Regions from separate parts of the Homo sapiens genome. Here region 2 is linked to region 1. Evidence: promoter capture Hi-C in 16 types of primary human blood cells and fetal thymus (Javierre and others, 2016). All regions are on one chromosome and are shown on one strand. The core of a region is centred on a gene start or on the middle of the fragment in contact, and the rest is flanking DNA. Distances in the headings are between cores, read along the strand shown.

Evidence for each region. Contacts are between HindIII fragments. The CHiCAGO score rates a contact against its expected background, and 5 or more counts as called.
Region 2: a fragment that was not itself captured here is called in contact with the fragment with the promoter of APPL1 in region 1 in 2 of 17 cell types (M0 macrophages and endothelial precursors); the score reaches 5.6 in M0 macrophages.

The regions. Positions count from the first base shown.
Region 1 is chr3:57,224,976-57,229,718 of GRCh38, forward strand. It overlaps APPL1 (adaptor protein, phosphotyrosine interacting with PH domain and leucine zipper 1), which reads left to right and starts at 2,754. Exons shown (of 22, transcript NM_012096.3): 1 at 2,754-2,962. The coding sequence starts at 2,909. It also overlaps a transcript of HESX1 not described here. RefSeq lists a silencer at 2,552-3,211. The HindIII fragment of the contact is 8,451 bases long and covers 1-4,743 here.
Region 2 is chr3:56,994,064-56,998,806 of GRCh38, forward strand. It overlaps a transcript of ARHGEF3 not described here. Among named protein-coding and RNA genes, the nearest start is that of ARHGEF3-AS1, 56 kb to the left of the region's middle. The HindIII fragment of the contact is 474 bases long and covers 2,249-2,722 here.

The DNA of each region.
Region 1 (4,743 bases), core at 1,504-4,003:
AAAGTTTTTACTCTACTACCCACACGAGTCGCCAGTAACCCCTAAGGCATTCTCTGAACAAGCCTCATTTCCTGTATGAAAGAAAACTGGCTTAAAATGAACTGAGTTTGGTTAACTGCACAAAACGTAGGCTGAATAAACTTAAAGTGGTTATCAAAAAGGACTATGAATTTTGCAGCTTTGGAGATGTTTTAACTTAGGAAATACAACCATATTTTTGGATGAGCAGGGTATACAGTGGCCTAAAGCTAGAGAATCCAAATGGAAGGTTAAAACTGGATTCTAGTACAAATAGGTTAAAACTAGATTTGACTAAACCTACCTCTCCATCCAACTGAATGTGAACCTGTTTTTGTTTGTTTTATTTTTTCATTTTTATTTATTTTTTGTTTTTGAGACAGAGTTTCGCTCTGTCGCCCAGGCTGGAGTGCAGTTTCGGCTCACTGCAACCTCCACCTCCCGGGTTCAAGCGATTCTCCTGCCTCAGCTTCCCAAAGAGCTGGAACTACAGGCGTGTGCCACCATGCCCAGCTAATTTTTGTATTTTTGGTAGAGACGGGGTTTCACCAGTTGGCCAGGATGGTCTCCATCTCTTGACCTCTTGATCCGCCTGCCTCAGCCTCCCAAAGTGCTGGGATTACAGGCGTGAGCCCCACCGCGCCCAGCCTGTTTTATTTTTTAACCAGCTGAGTCCGGCAAGAATTCCTTGCCATTCTGCGATAATGTAATGGCCTCTTGAGAGTCCTTTACAGAAACACAGTTTAGATGTACATAACATACTAAGAAGGAAACCATTTAACTTGACAATACCACACCCAGATAATTCAGATAACTAATCGAATTTTTCATCGGAATTATTTGGTTTGGCCAAGTTAATTAGGTAACAAATACTTTTCTTTTCTTTTCTTTTTTTTTTTTTTTTTGATACGTAGTCTTGCTCTGTCGCCCAGGCCGGAGCGCAGTGGTATGATCTCAGCTCACTGCACCTGGGCCTCCCGGCTTCAACTGAGTCTCCTGCCTCAGCCGCCTGAGTAGCTGGGACTACAGGCACGCCACCACGCCCGGCTAATTTTTGTATTGTTAGTAGAGACTGGGTTTCGCCATGTTGGGCAGGCTGGTCTTGAACTCCTGACCTCAGGTGATCCAGCTGCCACGGCCTCCCAAATTGCTGGGATTACAGGCGTGAGCCACAGCGCCAGGCCTTTTTTTTTTTCTTTCTTATACATTGTTTACACTCCTCACTTACTCCTGATTCTTAACAGTTGCCACAACCTTTCTTCATTTAAAATCTAACTCAGTTCAATCAGGAAGGTCACTTACCTTGAAAGTCTTCCTTCTTTAGAGCTGGGGTGCATGGTGTTCTTGTTGGCAGAGTAGAAATGAGATATCAAGGAAAAAGAAACTGTAACACAACTGGGAACCCTTAACTCATTGTAAGAACTGCCTCCAAATCAACTTCCTCAAAAACTAAAGAACTCTTCGGGAGAGAGAGACTGGCTGATAAACAATCTAAGGGGAAAACTTTTAAAGATTGTAACACTAAAAATAATTCCGTAAAACTACAATGCAAGTCTACTCAACAAAACTTTAAAAATATAATTTTATTTTTCTTTCAAGAGATCATGGGAAAATCTACTATTTTCGTTTAAAATATATAACTTCTATTTGTTACTATATTTGGATTTGAGCTACTACTATTCTGGATTTGTTCCCATGTATCTGTGGAACCAGGCAGCTAATTAATCTTTACTCAGCATCTCTGGTATTTCTTGAATGAAAATGGAATGGATTGGTGGAATTAATGGCTAGATGTTTAGAAGACACTACTTACTTTGTTATTTTCTCTGTATAATGATGAAAGCCTACAACTATACAGAGACATAAACGAGCCAGGGTGACAGGTTGGGAAAGATGAAGAGGGAGGAGGAAAGGATAGGCTTGTAGCCCTCATCCGGTCAAATTCCCAACTTTGAGCTTCACTTTATTGTAAAATTAGAGGCTAAAACTATTTAACGCTTCCAAAACTTTTTGATTCAACAAATGCCAATTAGTTACTAACATAATTAATCAGTGTATCCTGATTTTTAAAAGATATTTTCCTTTGTGATTTAAAAGAAACATGGGAGTTGGAGTTGCAGCGTCAGTCCTGAAGGACTGACCTCGGGAGGCCAGGTAGGAACTGATAAACTGGCAACAAAATCACATGTTTTCAACTGAATATACTGATATTCAAGCGTCCAGAAAAACAATTTCGAGCCTACGTTCACAAGTTTGCCAGAAAGCCCTATTATTGACACAGCTGCGGATCTCAGACATCTGAGTTAGTCAGCACCATTCTGCTGGAGGGGATTAAGACTGGACGCTTCGAGCGGAGTTGGGAATGTTATCATCTGAGGAAACTAAAAGGCGCCAGCAGTAGGACTTTCTCCAAGGTCTCTGACAAAATATGTTGCGGGAAAAGTCAACCCGCCCCAAATTCCCCCGTGTGGCCCTAACTCGAGGCTCTGGCTCCTCGCGCCGGCAAGCTGAGGAAGAGACGGTCCCCTGCGATTTAGATACAAACGCGCGCGTGCAGGGAAGGCCATCCCAGGGCAGACACTGCCACCTCCGCCGCTTCCGACGCCCGCGCTCGCGGGAGAGCCTAGCGCCGCACGGGAACCTCCCGACCACCGCCGCAGCGCGGATGGGCGTCCCCGGGAGCCAATGGACGCGCCGGGAGGCGGGGCAGGGAGGCCGAGGGGGCGGGATTTCCCGCACGGCCGCTCGGCGCCTGGAGAAGGCTGTGCGGGCGGGGACGGCTGCAGCCCTTGCCGGAGAGGGCGGGCCGGGGTCAGCTGCGGCGGGCGGGCCGGCGCGGGGAGCTGTGGGCGGCAGCTGCGTCTCCTGCCACCGCCCTCCCTCCGCCACGATGCCGGGGATCGACAAGCTGCCCATCGAGGAGACGCTGGAGGACAGCCCGCAGGTGAGGCGCGGGAGCTGGTGGGCGACGAGGGAGAGCCCAGCTGGCCGACCCCAGGTCTGGCGCCTCCGCGGCTCCCGCAGGTGCCCGCCCCGGCCCAGGTGGGGGCCGCCGCCGCCCTAGGTCACCGCCCGTCGCAGGCCGCGCCCGGAGTTGTGGAGGCTGGGCCCGCCGCCCAAGGCCCGCGTGGGCCTGCTCGGCTGGGCCGAGGGCCGCAGGCGGAGACCGAGCCGCTGGTGCTCGTGGGCCGGGCGGTCACGTACGCGCGCGGGTCCTTTTTATTTGACGAAAGGCGCCGTTTTTATCGCGGTGATGTGAGGTGCCAAATCTCGATCCTGGAATTTTCTCCCTGAGAACCTCTTCAGAAAAATTGCAGAAGGGAGAGAAACCCCGATAGTCTTATTTAATGATTTCCGAGGCTCAGCAAGCTAAGGAAGGAAATGGATCGTTTTTCTTTGGGAGAGGCTGTAAGGTTGTGTGTGGAGCCCTAATGGCAAAGCCCGTGACGGGTCCCGGAGCCCAAGACCGCTCTCCCCGCCGAATGTGCCCGTGTCGCGGCCGTGACTGTGGTCGCTGTCACTCGAGCTGTGCACGGCGAGGGATGGACGGTGCCTTCGCCGCTCCGCGACTGCTGCGCTGCTCCCTGCAGACTTGGCCTTAATAAACTCATCAAAATAAAAGCCCTGTGTTCTGTGCGTCGGAATGATGCTGATGTGGTTGCTCTAGCTTAAGACAGTTTTGGAAAATGTAACCATTTAATATGTTTTCAGTACTGCAGAATGAAAGCAGCTATATTTTTTAAAATGTTGGCAGGGGCTGTAACTTGCATAGGGAAAACTTCATCTCTAAGCCGTTTTACACGATAATTTAAACGGTTTAAGACGGTGTTGCTGGTTGGACACTATTTAGAATGAAACATTTCTGAATTGTTGCTGATTTAGAAATGCAGTTGCACCATTTCGTGTGTCTTTACAGTTGAACATGGCCCCCAAAGAAGAAAAGCAGAAGAGGTCTAGATCTCCTTTTCCTGGATGGCACTTCTGCCATGGATTTTGTGCCAATGTTAATTGCCAAGTTGAAATGGGGCTCTGATTGTAGAATTGATTTGTTCTTTTTTATTCTGAAAGTTATCTTCACAGGCCAGTTGCCTGCTGCTAATGTACTCTTAACAGCTGATAGTGACAAAAAGAGAAACTCACATTTGGTTTATCTTGACTGCCAGTATACTCGGTTCAATTTTTTTCTTGATGATTTCTCCATATAAAGTTATAAACTGTATTTGTTTCAGATGATTTGCAAAAAGTTTGTGGAATTGGTCAGGTGTACTTTGTCATTTTACTTTTTATTATGTAAGATTCAACAGGTTGCCTTACCTTTCTTCTCTTACTTGGCTTTTTTTTTTAATAGCCCATAAAGACTATAAACGGCTCAGAATGGATTGCACACTGCCCTGGAAATGACTTGTGAGGCAGAGATAAACTCTTGACTCATCTAATGTCTTGAGGTTTTTGCCAGATTAGTTTACAACTTAAGAATTGTGGTTTTTTTTTTTCTTTACAAGCATGCATCATACTAGTGTCCGTTTTACAATATATTTGTTTGTTTTTTGAGATGGGGATCTTGCTATGTTTCCCAGTCTGGAGAGCAATGGCTGTTCACAGACACTATCGTAGTGCACTGTGTCCTGGAACACCTATGCTGAAGTGATCCTCCTGCCTCAGCCTCCCTAGCAGCTGGGAATACAGGCGTGTGCCACTGTGCCAGCTTTTTTTTTTTTTTTTTTT
Region 2 (4,743 bases), core at 1,236-3,735, 230 kb before region 1:
CAAAAAAAAAAAAAAAAAAAAAGCACACTGTAGATTATAACACACAATCTAAACGTGTGTTATTTTCATAGTTGTTATGATTATCAGATGTATTTTTTGAAATCTCACAAGGCTTTGTTAAGTAAGTAAATGATACAACTCTACATGAAACTTGGGCAAAATTTCCCTACACAAATGTAAAGCCCAAAACAACTAACAAGCAAAAAGCACGGCAAGGAAACGAGGTTTAACTATAGAAGCTCTAGTACTAAAAGGCTGCCAGGTGCCATTTCTGGAGGGCTCATGTGCATCAGGCACTGTGTTGGGCACTGACCTGAATCATCCTGAGCATTAAAATATAACTTACGGAGAATTTAAGTCTCTTTTTTCAATCTGTTTGGATTTTTCAAAAGAGACTACTTTGTGGATAACATGACTATTTTTCTAAAATTATTCGCCAGAAAGGGAAAAGAGTTTCAACAGCCCTCTTGGAAAAGGGATTTCCCTTTTCCCTCTTGGAAAAGGAGTTTCCACCACCCTCGCTGAAGAGTTCATATTTTTCCATTACCATATGCCTTAATTGTCTCAAGATACTAGCAACGGTATGGATGGGTAATCTTTTCATATTTTTCTCATTAAACCTGTAACAAAACACAGTATAACTTAAAAACTTCCCACACTCCCCCGAATCCAGGACAATAGAAGAAAATACAAGATGCGGCAGGAATGATGACTGACTGATATGGTTTGGATCTGTGTCTCTGAATCTCATGTGAAACTGTGATCCCCATGTGTCAGGGGAAGGGCCTGGTGAGAGGTGACTGGACCTGGTGGTGGATTTCCCCCTTGCTGTTCTTGTGACAGTGAGTGAGTTCTCTCAGGATCTGATGGTTTAAAAGTGTGGCACGTCCCCCCTCACTCTCATTCTCTCCTGACCCCATGTAAGATGTGCCATGCCTCCTCTTTGCCTTCTGCCATGATTCTAAGTTTCCTGAGGCCTCAGGAGACTGGGCCTCAGTTCTCCTCTGGGGAACTGTTCATCAATTAAATCTCTTTTCTTTATAAATTACCCAGTCTCAGGTAGTTCTTTAATAGCAGTGTGAAAATGGACTAATACAATGGCTGGGGCACAGAGCACCAATTTTCAACTCTTTGTAAAGCAATTTATGCTCAAGGATCATAATTTTCCTCTGTGCTATGAGCTGAGGCCGGCGTCTGGGGGGTGGAGTTCAGTGAAGAGGCATCTTGTCCTTCTCAGGAATTAGGACTTTGACAACTGTCCTTTACCAAGCTCGTCCTCTGATGACTCTGATTTGTTGTATCAAAGAGTAATGTGAAATGCTAAAAAAAAGATATAAAATCTTCCAGACAGAATTCATTTTAACTTTGTTTATATGCCTTGCTGCTTCTTTAGGAATGGACTGAATGGCCATGATAAGATCAGGCAGTGAGGATCTTTGTGGCACCCAGCAAACAGGAGACATGCAATCATCATTTTTTCAATCAATCCCAAAGTGACTGGACTCAAAGAGGTATTCAAAAGTCTGACACTAGGGGGCAAAAGAGAGTAAATTTTCCGAGAGAGAGAGAGAGAGAGAGAGAGAGAGAGAGAGAGAGAGAGAGAGAGAGAATTTTTTTTAACCTGGTCTCAATTTGAGACCCCAGTAGAGAGAAACCTAAAAAATGTAAGTTGAATAGAGAGGAAACTAAAAAATATAAGTTGAAGCTAAAATTGGACATTTGAAGATTTTCTGGCAAAATTTTGATGACAAATTCAAGGCTGCCCTAAAAGTCTGAGGACTCCTTTAGTCTAGTTAGTGAGAACCTCTGTTTAAAATGGAAATAGGCTACCAGGACCGGATAACATATTAATTCCCATCAACCATTAACTCCCACCTGTGATGAGAAGTAATTCATCAGCTGAGTTATCAAAGAGCAAGGCCCTGGGGGATTGGAACACAAGGTTGGGAGCTTTCAATTGAAAGAAGGAAAAAAACACAGGTGACAGTGCCCTCCAAGCACAGCCCCCATGAGATTGCCTTTAATCCCCATCATCATCCCTTATTCTCATTTTGTAGACCTAGAGACTGGGACTCACCAACTGAAACACAGTCTTAATGACTGGCATCACCATCTGCCCCCATTTCCACTGTGGAACCCAGGGGGTCTGCTGAGCCACCCTCCCTCATTTCTGCATCCACTCTGCTTCAAACCCCCTCCTCTCCTGTCTATTCCCTATCTTAGCTCTCCCTGCACACTGCAAACGAGAAGCTTCTAAATCTCAAATATAGTTATTCCTTCCTCATCCCATTTCAAACCCTTGAAATTGCTATGGTCTGAATGTTTGTGTCTCACCAAAATTCATGGGTTGAAACCTAATCCCCCATGTGATGGTATGAGGAGGTAGGGCCTCTGGAAGGTGATTAAATGAATGGGATTAGTGCATTAATAAAAGGCCCCAGAGAGCTTCTTTCCTTTCCATCTCATGAGGACACAGTGAGAAGGCACCATCTATGAACGAGGAAATGGGCCCTCACAAGATGCTGAATCTGCTGGCACCTTGACCTTGGACTTCTCAGCCTCCAGAACTGTGAGAAATCAATAAATTTCTGTTGTTTATAAGCCACTCTCTTTATGATGTATTGCTACAGCAGCTCAAATGGACTAAGACAGCAAGGCCCCGTATCTCTTACAGAATAAAATCCAAGATAAAAAAGCACAGCTATGCAGACCCTATAGCCCAAGCTTGTGCAACCTGTGGCCCGCAGGCGGGCCCAGTACAGCTTTGAACGTGGCCCAACACAAATTCGGAAACTTTCTTAAAACATTATTATTATTATTATTATTATTTTTTTTTTTTTTTGCAATTTGCTTATTTGCTCATCAGCTGTCATTAGTGTTACTGTATTTTATGTGTGGCCCAAGACAATTATTCTTCTTCCAATGTGGCTCAGGGAAGCCAAAAGATTGAACACCCCTGCTCTAGCCATTACAACCCTCCCCACCTCACCTACCCCTCAACTCATTTCCTGGGATCCCTACCCCAGCATCCCCACACAGGGCCTCCAGCCCTGCAGAAGCACTTGCCACCAAACAGCACTGAGGCCTGCGATGCTTGGTTTCCACTGAGCAGCTCAGCCTCTGATGACCCAGCCCCAGGGCCATCTTCTCTGACAAGTCTTTCTGACCCTCATGACCTCCCTCAGGATGGACCACTCCCCCGGAGCCCCCAACTCTCAATTCAGACTTCTAGCCTGTCCACTCACATGCCCTGTGGGGAGGTCCTGCAGAGCAGGGTCCACATTTGGTCACTTCTGCCCAGTCCATGGCCTGGAAGACAGTCGGGCCCAGGGATCAGGTGGAGGGCTCTTGGTTCTTGGAAGGGGCTGGTATCAAGAGGAAGATGGCTAAGGGTGGGCAGAAAGAGATGCCAAAAGCAAACTCTGCCCCCCTAAGAGCTTAGCAGCAGGCTTGCCTGAGCAAGAAGGCCTGGGCAAAAGTGGGGTCTGGCAGCCTCTCCATAAACAGGGCTGACTCCGCGCAGATCTACCCCGGGCAGGTTGTCACAGGAACTCAGAGGAGCTGTTTGTGGGGGCTTTTTCACATCCACGTATGCCTTTGCCCTGATCAACAGAGAGACAGCCTGCGAGTACAATGAGAGGCCCCCAGTAGGAGATGACGAAGGGTAAATGATCCAAACACCTGCTCTGCACCCCTTACTTCACTGCCCTGTCATTCCCCTGTATTATCAGGAAAACTGAAAGATTTTCTATTTTCACTCCTCCAGGGCCTCCACATTCCAATTCTAGAATTCCTGGAAGATGCTTCAGCAAGAACTCATAAAACTTTCACAATTCCAAAGTCACACTTCTCATGAACGTGTGTACAGTTGAAGGCAACGTCACATGCAAGCTCTTCTGGCCTCTGTTTCCTCATCTGCAAAATGAGGCGGACAAGACTTAATTAACTTTGATGTCCTGCAACTACAAGGTATAATGTACAGTTGGGTTTTTAAGGTTCTCAAAGTTATTTATGCAAACACTGAATCAGTAACATCGCAAACTGCTGCTCGCTTCCCAGTGCCAAATTTTTACAGTCAGCCAAGGCTTCCTGCATAGAGACAATTGAAAAACAATCACTCTTTTATTCAATCCACACAAACACACAAAAGAAAATGGTCCAAACTCTCTCTGCACACACACAAAAAAACTAACCAGGGAAATCAAACAGAAAGAGGCCCTCCACTCACTCATTTGGCAAAGCTATTACTTGGTATCAGATACTGTTGAATATTTACAAAGATTAACACTCATTAAATAGGACCAGGAAGGTGGCTTGGCTCCTTCTCTTCCCGGTCATCCTGACTTTTTTTTTTTTTTTCCTTCCCTGCAGCCAAGAGCAACACTGGCTGGACCTTGGTTCACTTCCCTACTTTCCTTGCTATGGGGACCCCAGGCACAATGACTGAGTCCAGAAACATGAATGGTGCTATGAGCTCCTTCATGACCTCAGCAGTCATCTGGGGGTGCCACAGCTGAGCCCTCAGCCCGAGCCCTCCTGCCCAGGGACTTCACAGACCACTCCTCAAACTGCCTTCCCAAACACCACAGAAAGCCAAGTGGCCATTTGGGTTTTCTTGGTTTGACTTTTAATGCAAGCTGTCTCAAGAAATGATAGATTCAAACACAGCTGTCCTTCCTCCTTTCCCCCTACTGTGGAATTGGCCATTTCAGGATCCAAAGGAAGGTATGTCCACATGTTTAT